2 separate regions of the Homo sapiens genome follow, and region 1 is linked to region 2. The links are contacts of gene promoters, found by promoter capture Hi-C in human tissues and cell types (Jung and others, 2019). All regions are on one chromosome and are shown on one strand. The core of a region is centred on a gene start or on the middle of the fragment in contact, and the rest is flanking DNA. Distances in the headings are between cores, read along the strand shown.

Region 1 (6,595 bases), core at 2,074-4,573, 35 kb after region 2:
GCCTCCCAAGTAGCTGGGACCATAGGCGCAAGCCACCACACCTGGCTAATATTTTTGTATTTTAGTAGAGACAGGGTTTCACCATGTTGGCCAGGATGGTCTCGATCTCCTAACCTCGTGATCCACCTGCCTTGGCCTCCCAAAGTGTTAGGATTACAGGCATGAGCCACTTTAATAATTTCATAATCACCTTTGCCTGTGCCCCCTTTTTTTTTTTTGGTTGGATTTGAATCATTGTCTGAAGTCACTTGCTTTCAGTCTGAAGACCTCCCTTTAGTACTTCTTGAAAGGTGGGTCTGCTATTAACAGATTCTTTCAGTTTTTGTTTATCCTGAAGTGTCTTTATTTTGCCTTCATTTTTGAAGGCTAGTTTTGCCAACATAAGATTATTGGTTGACTTCTTAAAATATTTGTGCATTTTGAATATGTCATCCCACTGCCTTTTGGCTTCCATTTTTTTCTACTCCAAAGAAAGCTGTTCACCTTATTGGGGTTCATTTTTATGTGATCAATTGTTTGGCTCTTGCTGCTTTTAAGATTTTCTCTTTGTCTCTTAACATTTTTACTATAATATGTCTGATAACAGATCTCTTTGCCTTTATTCAAATGGATATCATTAAGCTTCCATAGGTATGATTAATGTTTTTCATCAAATTTAGGGAGTTTTCAGCCAATATTTATTGAAATGTTTGTTCTGTTCCTTTTTCTCTCCTCTCTTTCTAACACTCATATTGTGTATATGTTGGTGTACTCAACGGTATCCCACATGTTTCAGAGGCCTTGTTCATTTGTCTTTATTTTTTTCCTCTGGTTTTTTTGTTTGTTTGTATTTTGTATTGCACAAATTCCCCTTCTCTATCTTAAAGTTTTCTAATTTTTTGGTCTTCCAGTTTAAATCTGCTATTGAGCCCCTCTAGTAAGTTTTTGTTTCTGTTATTACACTTTTCGATTTCAGAATTCCCACTTGGTTCTTTTTATTGTAATTTCTATTCTTTATAAATATTTTCTATTTGATAAGACATTGCCATCATACCTTCTTTTACTCCTTTAACATGGTTTCCTTTAGTTCTTTATATATATTTGTAATAGCCACGTGGCTGTATTTACTAAGTCCAACATCTTGGTCCTTCTCATAAGCAATATCTGTTGTTCTTATGTAGATCACATTTTTCTGTTTCTTTACATGACTCATATTTTTGGCTTAAAACTGAACATTTTAAATAAATTGTACAACTCTGAATACTAATCACTGCCCTCCCCCGCCCCCACTAGAGGATTGTCTTTGTTGTGTTTGCTTATTTTTTTAGTGACTTAGATGAGCTATTTTCATAAAGTATATTTACCTCACAGTGTAAAACCTCTAAGGTTGCCACTTAGAGAGTGCAGACTTCAGCATGTCATTGAAGTGACAGTGGTTTTAGGAAGCTTCTATATGACTGTGCCTTCCCAAATCATTCTGTAAAGCTATCTTCCTCTGTTGGTATCACTCCCAACTGTGAGTCTCCACTCCACTACTTGCTGCCGGATTGCTCTATTGGTTTTGACAGTGCCCTGCGGCATAAATTGCTTCACAATCTAATCCAATTAAATTCATGATCCTTGGTATGTTTAGCCTTTGAGGTTTATTCTGATCTTAAGAGGGCTCTTCATAGCTATCAATTTCCCTGATTCTCTCTGGCTGAACTACCTACATGAAGATTAGCTTGTTGCTTTTACCGAGTTACCAGTCTCTTCTAAAGTGCTTGCCACCAGAATCTCCACTGTTTTCCAGAGCACCCTTTAATCTTGAACTTCCCTACTCTTTGTGCCAAATAAAATAAGTTATCTTGGGGAATGCTCTGGAGCTCTCTCTCCCACTGGGCAAAGCCAATGAATCACTGCTTCAGAGCTAGGGAAAGGATAGTAGCTCTAGGTGGGGCAATACCTTCTGGTTTTCTTGGCTTTCCTCTTCCACCATGGAACCTCTATCCTGCTAGTGTGCTGGAGTAAGGGTAATTGGGGCCCCAGTATTCTCAGCATGCCATGTCTGATATAGAGTCTCTACCCTACCAGTGGGTGTTCATTAGAGGAAGTAAACCCTCAACCTCTCAGCCACACTTGCACAGAATTTAGCCTCTGCAAAACAGAACTGAGAGTGATAAGAAATGATGGTAGCTTGCCCCTCTCAAAGAAATACCATAACCCTTGCCTGAAGCAGGGGACAGGAAGCCTCATCTTGGCCACCTGCTCAAAGTAGAATGTTTCTACTTGCTGAACTGGGAGACAAAGGGAGAGAATAGGTCATGGCTCAATGCCACAGACTCTCAGTGTTCTTTTTTGATATTTAGTGTATTTCCTTCAATAAATATTTCTTCATTTGTTATATGCCCTTAAGACAATGTCCAAATACTTTAAAAAGTTATATTTTTATAATTTTTACCAGTTATGCTTTATTTCTACTGTGAAGATGATCTCTGAGGCTCTTTATGCCACCAGCAGGGAAATAGTCTACCTTCCATAGATTTTTAACCAGGCTCCTATGTTTGAACACCATATAATGTTTAAAGTAAATCTCTTATTCTATAACACTCACAGTGGTTCTGTTTCCCTACGCAAAACCTAACTGCTACAATGTAGGCAGAGACTTATTCTTAAACACCAGTATCCTTGGAAGTTTGTGTTCTCCCTCAGAGAAGGATCTATGCCAATCTTGATCATGATGTGGAAAACCCCAAATACGTTCCATTTCAGAAAGGAACATGGCCCTCTCGTTAGCTCCAGTGCTCTAGATTTCCTTTGCCATTTCATCCTCCCTGAGCCAATCTTATCCCCAACCTTCCTGCCCTTGTAGATCAACTAAGGCCTGAAAGCCTCCTCTTCCTCCTCATTCTCACCCTGACTTTTCTTTTCAAGGACTAACCTAGCAGTGTAATGGAATGTGTCATGTTGCATGGGCTGCCTCACTCTGAAAACAAAAGTCTGTTTGTGAATGGATGGTGAATTGGCAGCATTAAGTTGGTTTTAGATTTGCTCATCCTTTTGTATCATACCCTAAAAAGCTAGAGCACAAGAAGTGACTGCATCACACATTTTTCAAAGTGCTACTGAGATAGTCTGCGTCCCTGTGGCCAGGACAGTCACATGTGCTCTTCATCCTGTCTCCCTCAAGGGGTCGTGTTCCAGGAATTATACTGTCTCTTACCTTTATCTACAATTATGCTTAATCTATTAAATATTTTTCTAAGCTCCTATATACACTCAGTCTTTATTGCAAAATAAGCAACTCCCCTCACTATTAGTAACCGAAGTCACCACCTTCTCTCTGTCCTCTTCCCTACCACTATACTTCTTTAATAAGTCATCTCAGCTCCCTGTCCCATTGCCTTCACATTCTCTCTCTCCTTAAGTCCCTGCAGTCTGATAAAATTGCAGGGATAACAGGTTGATAAGATTACTTACTCAAGTTTTCTTGTGAGAGTCCCCATATACAATGGTCTTGTTGAACTTCTATATCTCAACTTAGTGTCACTCTTCAGTCCCTCACCTCTTCCTCCCTCTCCCACTTGCTGTCTCCTTAGAGGACCCTCATTCTCCCTCTTCTCCCTAGGTATTGATACATTATATTCTTTTGTCTTGTTTCTTTTTTTTCTTTTTTTTTTTTTGAGATGGAGTCTTGCTCTGTCACCCAGACTGGAGTGCAGTGATGCAATCTTGGCTCACTTCAACCTCTGCCTCCTGGGTTCAAGCAATTCCCCCTGCCTCAGCCTCCTGAGTAGCTGGGATTACAGGTGCCTGCCACCACACCTGGCTAATTTTTGTATTTTTTAGTAGAGACAGAGTTTCACCATGTTGGCCAGGCTGGTCTTGAACTCCTGACCTCAGGTGATCCACCCACCTCGGCCTCCCAAAGTGCTGGGATTACAGGCATGAGCCACAGCGCCCAGCTGATACATTATATTCTTGATCAATATATCCTAGGTCAATGTATATCCTTGGTCTCCTGTCTTTCTTCGTGAGACTCTCAGTCCCTTTTGCTAGAGTCTGGACAAATCCAGCAAGGAAGCCATATATATCCTTGGTCAATATATATGACCGAGAGAAAATATTGTCTTTCTCTTTTTTCTCAAATATGTCTCTAAAAGCAGCATTATCCATTCTAATAGTTTTCATCTATCATCTCTATTCAGAATATTTAACAAAAATCGTAACATTTAATGAGTTTTTGTATTGTAGCAGGTAACCTGCATATACTATCTCACTTAATTTTCAAAAGTGACCTTTACTAGCCCCACTTAGCACTGGAGACATTTGAGGCCTCGAAAAATTAAGTGACTTTCACAAGGTCACACAGGCAGCAAAGGAAAGTCTGACCCCTGAGCAAATCATCTTCATTGTTATGCTCGACAACCCAGCAACACCAGACTCCAGTTCAACCTCCTCAAGAATCACTCCTGATCACCCAGTGTGATGTGGTCCCTTCATTTGCATCATCCTTTGACATTCACATTTTGCTCTACATTATGGTCATTTGTGTCCCCACCACACACACACACACACACACACACACACACACACACACACCCTACTGCACTATCAATTCTGGGGAAAACATACTGTATTTATTGATTTCATATCTCCTCTAATGTTAGCCTAGGACAGCCAGTAAAAGAGCTACCTATTGAACAGAAGAGTAATTGTCTGTAAAGGGCTCCCTGCATATTCCAGCACCCAGTTTATTTCCAGATATGACAGAAGCGCAGGAAGTAAACAAACCCCAGGATGTCACATCATCCCAAACGACTAGATACTGTAGGCAATGTGGCTCAGGGTCTGTTTATTTTTAAGGCTGCGAAAGAAAAGGTAGAACAAGCCAAAGTGTATTACAAATAACAATGCTTATCTGCAGTAATAACAAGTGCTTAATAAATGCAAACTTATTAAGCAAGATTTTATGCTTCATTTACTTTGATAGGATGAAATTTTATATTTCAAAATAACTATCCAACAACAGATTGAGGAATTCCTCCTGGGAGGTGTGACTGACTTCAATTATAAGTAAAAGAATATAGTAAGTGAGTCACTAGCTATCTCTTAAGGAGACCAATACATTTCCAGATAGCTTTTTTCTCTGTGAAGATATCTCATTTTTCCTCTGCCAAATAAAATTAATTAAGTGACATTAAATTTAAAATGTATCTATTTATATGAGAGGAAAATAGATCCTGGTTTGGGCTGATGGACATTTTTGAAATTTTCTCCTTTGTGTTATTACTTGCTTCCAGAACAAGTCACAGGGGCAAGTAAATAGTTACATATAGGCCCAGTCTGTGCAACCAACTGAGGGTTTTATTTGCATCTAGGTAGACCATCTGTGATGTACAGTGCAGGGTTGCCTCAGAGCCAATTCAAGCAGAAACTGCCTATGGATTTCAAGAGAAAAGCACCACTTGATTTGGTTACAGGTGAAGCTCAGAAATGAAGATGGGGCCAGGAAAGGAAGAAGAGAAAACCTGCTGATTGCCATGGGTTGGACTTGAATGTCCTCACATTTTCTGTCTTTATGTACACCCACATAACTTAGCCATTCTCTAAGTCAGCCAAAGGGGTTAATTTGCAAGCAGGTTAAATTAAGGTTCTGAGGTCACCCACACTGGGTTCCCTTTATTCACCCTTTTTCTTCTGTGGTACCGGAAAAAGCACTGTATCCACAAATTCTGTCCCAAGCCTACTGCTCTTCCCTCTTTATGATTTGTACCTTATCGCATTCACCTTCAACCATGACTTAAACTGTGGCCCGTAGTAATTGACTCAGTCAGGGTCTTCCTTTTCTCCTACATTCCTCAGTGCTCTGGGAATTTATGCAGGCAATCACCACCCCCAAATTAGCATGTTCTGTACAGACTCATGTCTTCTCTCCAAAAAGCAGCCCTCCTTCCAAGTCCTTCTTTCTTCTTATCAACAATACTATACTGCTCCTTGCAGATAGTTTTCTTTTTCCTCTTCCTTGACTTCATATCTAATCAGTAGAAGTTCCAACATGTCTTCCTTCATGAGACTCTGAGTCCCTTTTGCTAGAGTCTGGACAAATCCAGCAAGGAAGCCAATTTTGTGTCCCTGTGATGCAGAAGGATGTGGGAGGTGGGTCTTAACTGGGCCAGGAAGTCACCTGGAATTGTGGAGATCGATGTAGTCTAAAGTTCAAGTGCAGAACAGAGCCAAGGAAAGGAGCCAAAGGTTTGTACTAAAATAGCATAGCAAGATCAGCCATCCATCAGACCTACATGACTGGGGTAAGGACATAGTTAGAGGGAGGAGTAGGAATGGGGTCTGTCTTGTTCATCTTTGAATCCCCAGTGCTGAACATGTTGCTTGCTCAGGGAAGGCATGCAACAAATGCCCTATATACAAGCCAAGAGTATAACCTTTCATTTACCTTTTACTCAAGACTGCCTATTAACCAATGCTCTTTCATTTTCATTAGCTTATGCCATGAAGTAGTGTTTGGGATGACACACTAGACAGGAATATCCACCTATGTTAGTTTGGGGTACCTATAGAAGTAACCTGAAATAATAAATAAATAAGGAGGCAAGCCATTTTAATAATATTTTGTGAT
Region 2 (6,144 bases), core at 3,230-5,729:
TTCCTGGCCGTAGTCCCATATATATACAGAGATGTATGATGGAAGAAAGGTCACAGGCATTCAGCATTGCTGACTTTGAAGATGGGGGAAGGGGGCATTAATAAAGGAATGTGGACACCTCTAGTATCTGGAAAAGCCAAGGAAAGAGGTTCTCCCCTACAGCCTCCAAAGAGAAATCAGCACTGCTGACACCTTGATTTTAGCCTAGTGAGACCCACGTCAGACTCCTGATCTGCAGAACTCTAATATGATACATTTGTGTTGTTTCAGCCACTAAGTCTGTGATAATTTCTTACAGTAGCAATAGAAAATGAATAAGAATGCTAAGCATTTAATTTCCGTTTATCATCCCATGCTAGCTAGAAACATAAAAGTGTTCTTTGCATCAAAGCATTAACTAAAGAATAAGCTAGTTTTAATTTTTCTGCAGATAAAGCACATTCTAAAAGACTTTCTAGAGCCTGTTTCTCATTCAAAATATGTGGTGTTTTTATGATATTATAACTCAAAGTTAATGACTTTTCTTCCCCAACTAAATTGTAGACACCCTCTTCTTATATAAATTCCACAAATCTTCCCTATGGGAGACACAAGAGTACACATTTTCTGTCTGTCTCTAGAATTTATGAGGTTTTACCCAAATGAATGTATTAAGTTTTTCTACATGATATCTCTCTCAATCTTCAGAACAGTCTAATATTGATCATTCAAAAGATCCAATTTGATCTCTGATCAATAAGATCTGATGGGCTAATATGGACTTGGTTGCCCTAATTTGGGTTCCCACAAACAGACTCTGAGACAAGGATTTAGGTGCAAGTAGTTTATTGGGGGGTATTTTCAGGAAGCATGGATAAGTAAAACCAGGAAGGGAGGAAAACTTAATAATGGGTGTTTTTATAAGAGGGTTACTACTGAGGGCAACAGAGCCACAGTCCCATTGGGATCTCTCCAGAGGCTGTGAACATGCCTCAGAATTGTCCCATAAAGAAGAAAATAACATGGGGTGTTTATGCACCAACTTCTGTCCCTTGTTGGCTGAGAGTTGCTCTCAAGGATGTGAATTTCCCAGCACACCTGGCCCACACTGCAGAAGCAGAGAATACCCCATGGTCAGAGAACCTGCTTGGGCATAGAAACACAGAAAACAGCTGACACCGTGTATCAGGGACCTCCAAGCTAAGTCAAAAGGATATGAATGAGGGACTGACTGTGTCAGTATGATCTATTTCAGGGCAAAGATATGTGATGTTAAATATGTGCTATGCATGGATTTTCCAATCACAACAGTGTGCAAAACCCAAAAGTGTGAAAACTAAAATTAACTTGATCTTGATTAAGAGTTATAATTTCCACCTGATATCAGATAAATTGACATGATCACTTTCTGGGTTTTCTCAGATAATTTTCATGACTTATTGGTCAGTTCAAATTTAATATTAACTCACATGCGGCTGGCCTTCTTAGGTCATCACGTTTACAACCTATTCATGGGGAAATCTATGGAAATGAATGGTCTCTACGATGAGAATTTTTCCAGATTGAACTCTTCGGGAAATTTAAGTACTTCCACGTAGACTTATTAGTAGATATTGACATGTCATTAGTCATTTGTAAAAAAATTTAATATATTGCAAATTTTTAAACATCAAAAAGCAAATAAAGCATTTTTATTCATTATTTGGCCAATCCAATGAAATCTCCCAAATAATAACAGATTCTGTTATTTCTTTTCTTGGTGGTTGATGGTTCTCAAGTCAACAGCTGAAGGAGAGGTGTCATGGTGTAAGGAAAACGGCACTCACTTAGACCCAGACATTCTTGAGTTCATGACCCACTTCTACCACATATTATTCTGTGGCTTTGGAAAAGTCACTTAACCTGTTGAAAATTTAGTTTTGCATGAGCATCACTCTCCATTACATGGGTAAAACTTGAGTCACTGAGAATGAACAGATTTCTGTACACTGTACAATTCTGACAGTTCATTCTGCTCATATCCTCCCATTTTTGCCAACTCTCTATCCCCAAGTTGTTCCAAGAGCGTTTTCACAACACATTGCCAAGCCTCTGTCCTTCCCTTTCTTGCCTATCCTCATTCTGTTATCTCCCTTTTTGGCTGCTTCATTAAGAGAGGAGCTGAGAATCTGGCATCTGGGCAAAACCATTACTTTGGAGAACACCACAAGGCCATTGCTAATTTTATCATCTTTGCCTTTAATGTACTAGTGGGAAGATTTATTTCTACCTTTAATAGTAAGATATCCTAAGTAGAAGGCATGTGGGTACTGCTGAGTCTTAGTTCTGTGAAGGTGGAGACTGTGTATGTTTTATTCCTTGTGAGAACCAAGGACTCAGCAAATACAGAGTACTTATTCAAACATTTTCTGAGGTTACTAGTTGATCCAAAATGTATTTAGTTGTTCAGAGATGCCAAATCTTGCTCAATATTTAGTCTGTGTTTTAGTATTGCTCCAAACCTTAAACCTAAACCTACCACTGACTTCAACAGAACTCTTCGCTTATTTTAACTGGAGATGGTATGAAGCAATGAGTCACCACTGACTATACATACCAGCAGTGCCTGATGCCAAATGGTTGGTGTGTTAATATAATTTTGTACACACAACAATGCACACATTCCAATACGGTAAGTAAAATAGAAAAGTTTCAAGAGTGAGAGCACGTAGTAGATATTTCTCAGAAATCTATGTGTGATTACCTAACCTTAGCAATTGCAATTAGGGGAAGGAAACGGAGAAAGCAGAATTCAGCTGTGTTTTAAGATTTATTTTATATATACCTTTTGTCCCTTGTAAAAAGAAAATTTGAAAAAGAAGAAGAAAAAGAAGAGGAGGGTGGGGGAGGAAAGGGAAAAGGACAAATGTGAAAAGAGGAAAGAGATGGAGAAGAAGAAAAGAAGAAAGAAAAGAGACATCTAATGTTAAAAAAGTTTTATTTCAAAATCTTTATTAAAAAAATGCTTTGCACTGAGCAATAGAGCTCAGGGAAAATAACGCCCTCTCTTCAACTTGTCTTTCTAAGTAACGTGAGGCAGTTGGGCCAACAATAGTGCTCCCCTCTACCTCTTCATCTCTCCATTTCCTAAATCTTAGAAGAAAATAAACCTACAAGAGTTTAGCCCCCAAATCTCAGTGAAACAGCCATGGAAGGGAGAGACCAGTGAAAATCTACTTCTACTTTGATGATAAAGGTTGAGAGAAATGCGATAAAATTTTTGAACTTGAGACACAAACTGGGCTGAACACACTTGGTATTAACTCCGTCTTTCACCTTGGCCTCAGGCCTTATCTTATTCCTCCAGCATTCCTTGGGATGGTAAAGGCAGGTACCCTCATATGCAAGTCATAGTTAGGAGAAGCGTTAGCATGTCCACCTCCAAAAGCTACATTAATCTGGAGTAGAACTGAACCCTGTCCAAGGGAGCTGAGTTACAGGACATGAGGCTCTGGAAACAGGGGCCATTTCTTTCTTTTTGTTTGTGTGTGTGTGTTTGATTGTTTGTTTTTGTCTACTGCCCCAATAAATTGGTTTCTTTTCTTAGAGTCTGATGCTAAAGAAGTCTCGACTCAGGAAAACCACAAGGGTGGACTTGGGAAGACTCAACAGGTTGTAATGACTCTCCAGCAAATCATGTCACCATGCCATTTGATGATGGTAGGAAGAAACAAAGCCTTGAAGATTCATGCATTGAGAGAATAAGAGTTAGTGAGTAAACCAGATGTGTTTCAGGACTGGGACCCTGCAGTCATCAACCACCTCACACCTGCGTCAGTAACAAACCCAAGCTACAGCATGATTTTTGTTCTACCTCAGCAGATATTTTATAGATGGAAAAACTGAGGCATAAAGTGGGTAAATACCTCCCCCAAGGTCACGAGATAAAGATAACGCAGTCATCAAATATTCTGTCTCCTCAACATCTGTCTTACTGGAATTCTTGATGGATTGGTACCCCCTTATTATAGTACTGATTTTAACATAGGTTGGTTTTGAATACTGGGTTTTTAAAAATCTTTTCAAATCATTTGTAAATTATGGAAATGTATACATCACATGAAACTTACCATTTTAATCATTTTTAAGTGCACAGTTTAGTTTAAGTACATTCACATTGTTGTGCACTGATCCATCACTATACCTTTTTCATCTGCTCCAGCTCAAACTCTGTACCCATTAAACAATAACTTCCCTTTGCCTCATCCCTCCAGGCCCTGGCAACCACCTCTGAATGCTATTTTATAGCAAAAAGAAATATTAACTTTTGAGCTTGGTTTACAACCAAAAACCACAATTACATGCAGGAGAGAGGGGGTGGGAAAAAGAGGTTAACTCAGAACTCAGTTACTTAGAAGACTCTGTGAGTGTGCTGTGTGTGTGTGTCTTTAAAAGACTCTCCACCTCCCAGCCCGCCTCCTCACACTTTGCCACTGGGTTGTTCAGTCCCCAGGTTCCCTCAGTCCCCAGAAGGAGCCAGCATGGACAATCTCCTTTACAGTTTCGGAAGCAGGTTTGTTGCCATGGAGTTCACATTTTGACGGGAGTTGAGAAGTATAAAGGTAACCATTTGTTTTAGTTTCAACGATCTGACAAAAAGATAGGCTGTTGCTCTTCTTCTGGAAAAGCCTGATTGGTAAGATTCCTTTAAGGGCTCAGCCCCAAAGAGCTTTATCCCATCCCCTCGCAGACTGAAAACTAAAGCCTGCAGAGACCTCTGAAGGAAAACCTGTCCCGGGCTCTGTCACTTCACACCCATGGCTAACCCTGGAGGTGGTGCTGTTTGCAACGGGAAACTTCACAATCACAAGAAACAGAGCAATGGCTCACAAAGCAGAAACTGCACAAAGAATGGAATAGTGAAGGAAGCCCAGGTAAGAGGCACTCTCCCCTACTCTTCTCTGAATTACCTGAACGTTTCAATATTTCTCTGTGAAGATATTTGAGGCTGTCCTAACTTAGAGTTCATCTTATGAAGGGTTTTTACATGTTTTGACTGTTGACTCTGTTAATAGAAAGTGCTTGGCTACCAAAAAGTTTAGGTGTGGATTAAGGAGAAAATGTCTTCTGTATGCAAAAGAGGATACACACAGACTCACACAGCTTCAGGCTCCCTAAAATACAAATGTACCTACTAGACTTTTGTCTCAAGCATTTTGCGGGGAGGGAAGAATTAAGAAAGTTCCAACTCTTTGCATATATTTTTGTCCAAGAGACCTGCTACAACCGTCATGCTTCAGAAGAAAAAGAGGAAGTGAAAGTACATTTTGCTGACATTATGTGGTGGAGATGGCATTCTTCCCAGGTCCATGAGAAATGCATCACTGTTTGAAAGGCGAGTTATTATTGGTGTGTAGTGGAGCATTGTTTTAGCTCACTACTTGATTTGAGGCCACAGTATTTCTTTGAAATGTGACGTCACAGACATTCTTTTCCAAAACACTTCAGAAAGCAGGGCTGATTGTGACACACTGCTCTCAGAAAACAGAACAGCATCTTTAAAACAAACTTGTATTTTCCAACTTGACACTTTTTTTTTTTTTCACTCTTATTGCACCGGGATGTTTGCAGAGTGTCCTAGGCAGGAGGAACTCGAGGAAAGTTGTCAGCTTGTTTTAAGAGAGAGCCTGGGTCTGTGAGGTCCTTATGTAAGGCAGTTCCCCACTCCCCACAGGACATCCCGTGTCACTCTGCTCTGAGCAGCAGAAGTGAGCTCATCTGCCTGAGGAGCAAGCCCAAGTAGTCAAACAGGTAGCCTCCTGTTTGGAAAGAGAAGTGGCACAGGGAGCCCCATGCAATCTTCCATCATTTGATCATCCAGAGAGCAAGTATCCACCCACAGGAAAGGCAGATTGTTCTAAGATCACAGGACAGGTGGGTCTGGCTGGGGCCAGTCCTCCTCTCAGTGAATTACATTCGTGTGTGCAATTGGAAGAGGCTAAAGGAGCTCTAGAGCCTGAGTTGTGTGTAAACAGGCTGTGGTCCCCAAAAGCATTCCCCTCTTAACAAAAGGCACTGTCCAACGCTGGGAGGTGTCTATCAGAAACCTCAGAACTGGCCTGTCCCACCTGAGGATCTGAAACCTGGAGCAATGTGAAGAGAAGGTGCTCAACTCCTGTCAGTTGT

Evidence for each region. Contacts are between HindIII fragments. The study calls those that stand out against the background at their distance.
Region 1: a fragment that was not itself captured here is called in contact with the fragment with the promoter of SPTLC3 in region 2 in 1 of the 25 tissues and cell types used here (spleen).

What each region holds. Positions count from the first base shown.
Region 1 is chr20:13,040,477-13,047,071 of GRCh38, forward strand. The region is part of intron 1 of SPTLC3 (serine palmitoyltransferase long chain base subunit 3); the gene reads left to right. Among named protein-coding and RNA genes, the nearest start is that of SPTLC3, 35 kb to the left of the region's middle. The HindIII fragment of the contact is 7,484 bases long and covers 1-6,595 here.
Region 2 is chr20:13,004,493-13,010,636 of GRCh38, forward strand. It overlaps SPTLC3 (serine palmitoyltransferase long chain base subunit 3), which reads left to right and starts at 4,480. Exons shown (of 12, transcript NM_018327.4): 1 at 4,480-4,892. The coding sequence starts at 4,776. The HindIII fragment of the contact is 14,727 bases long and covers 1-6,144 here.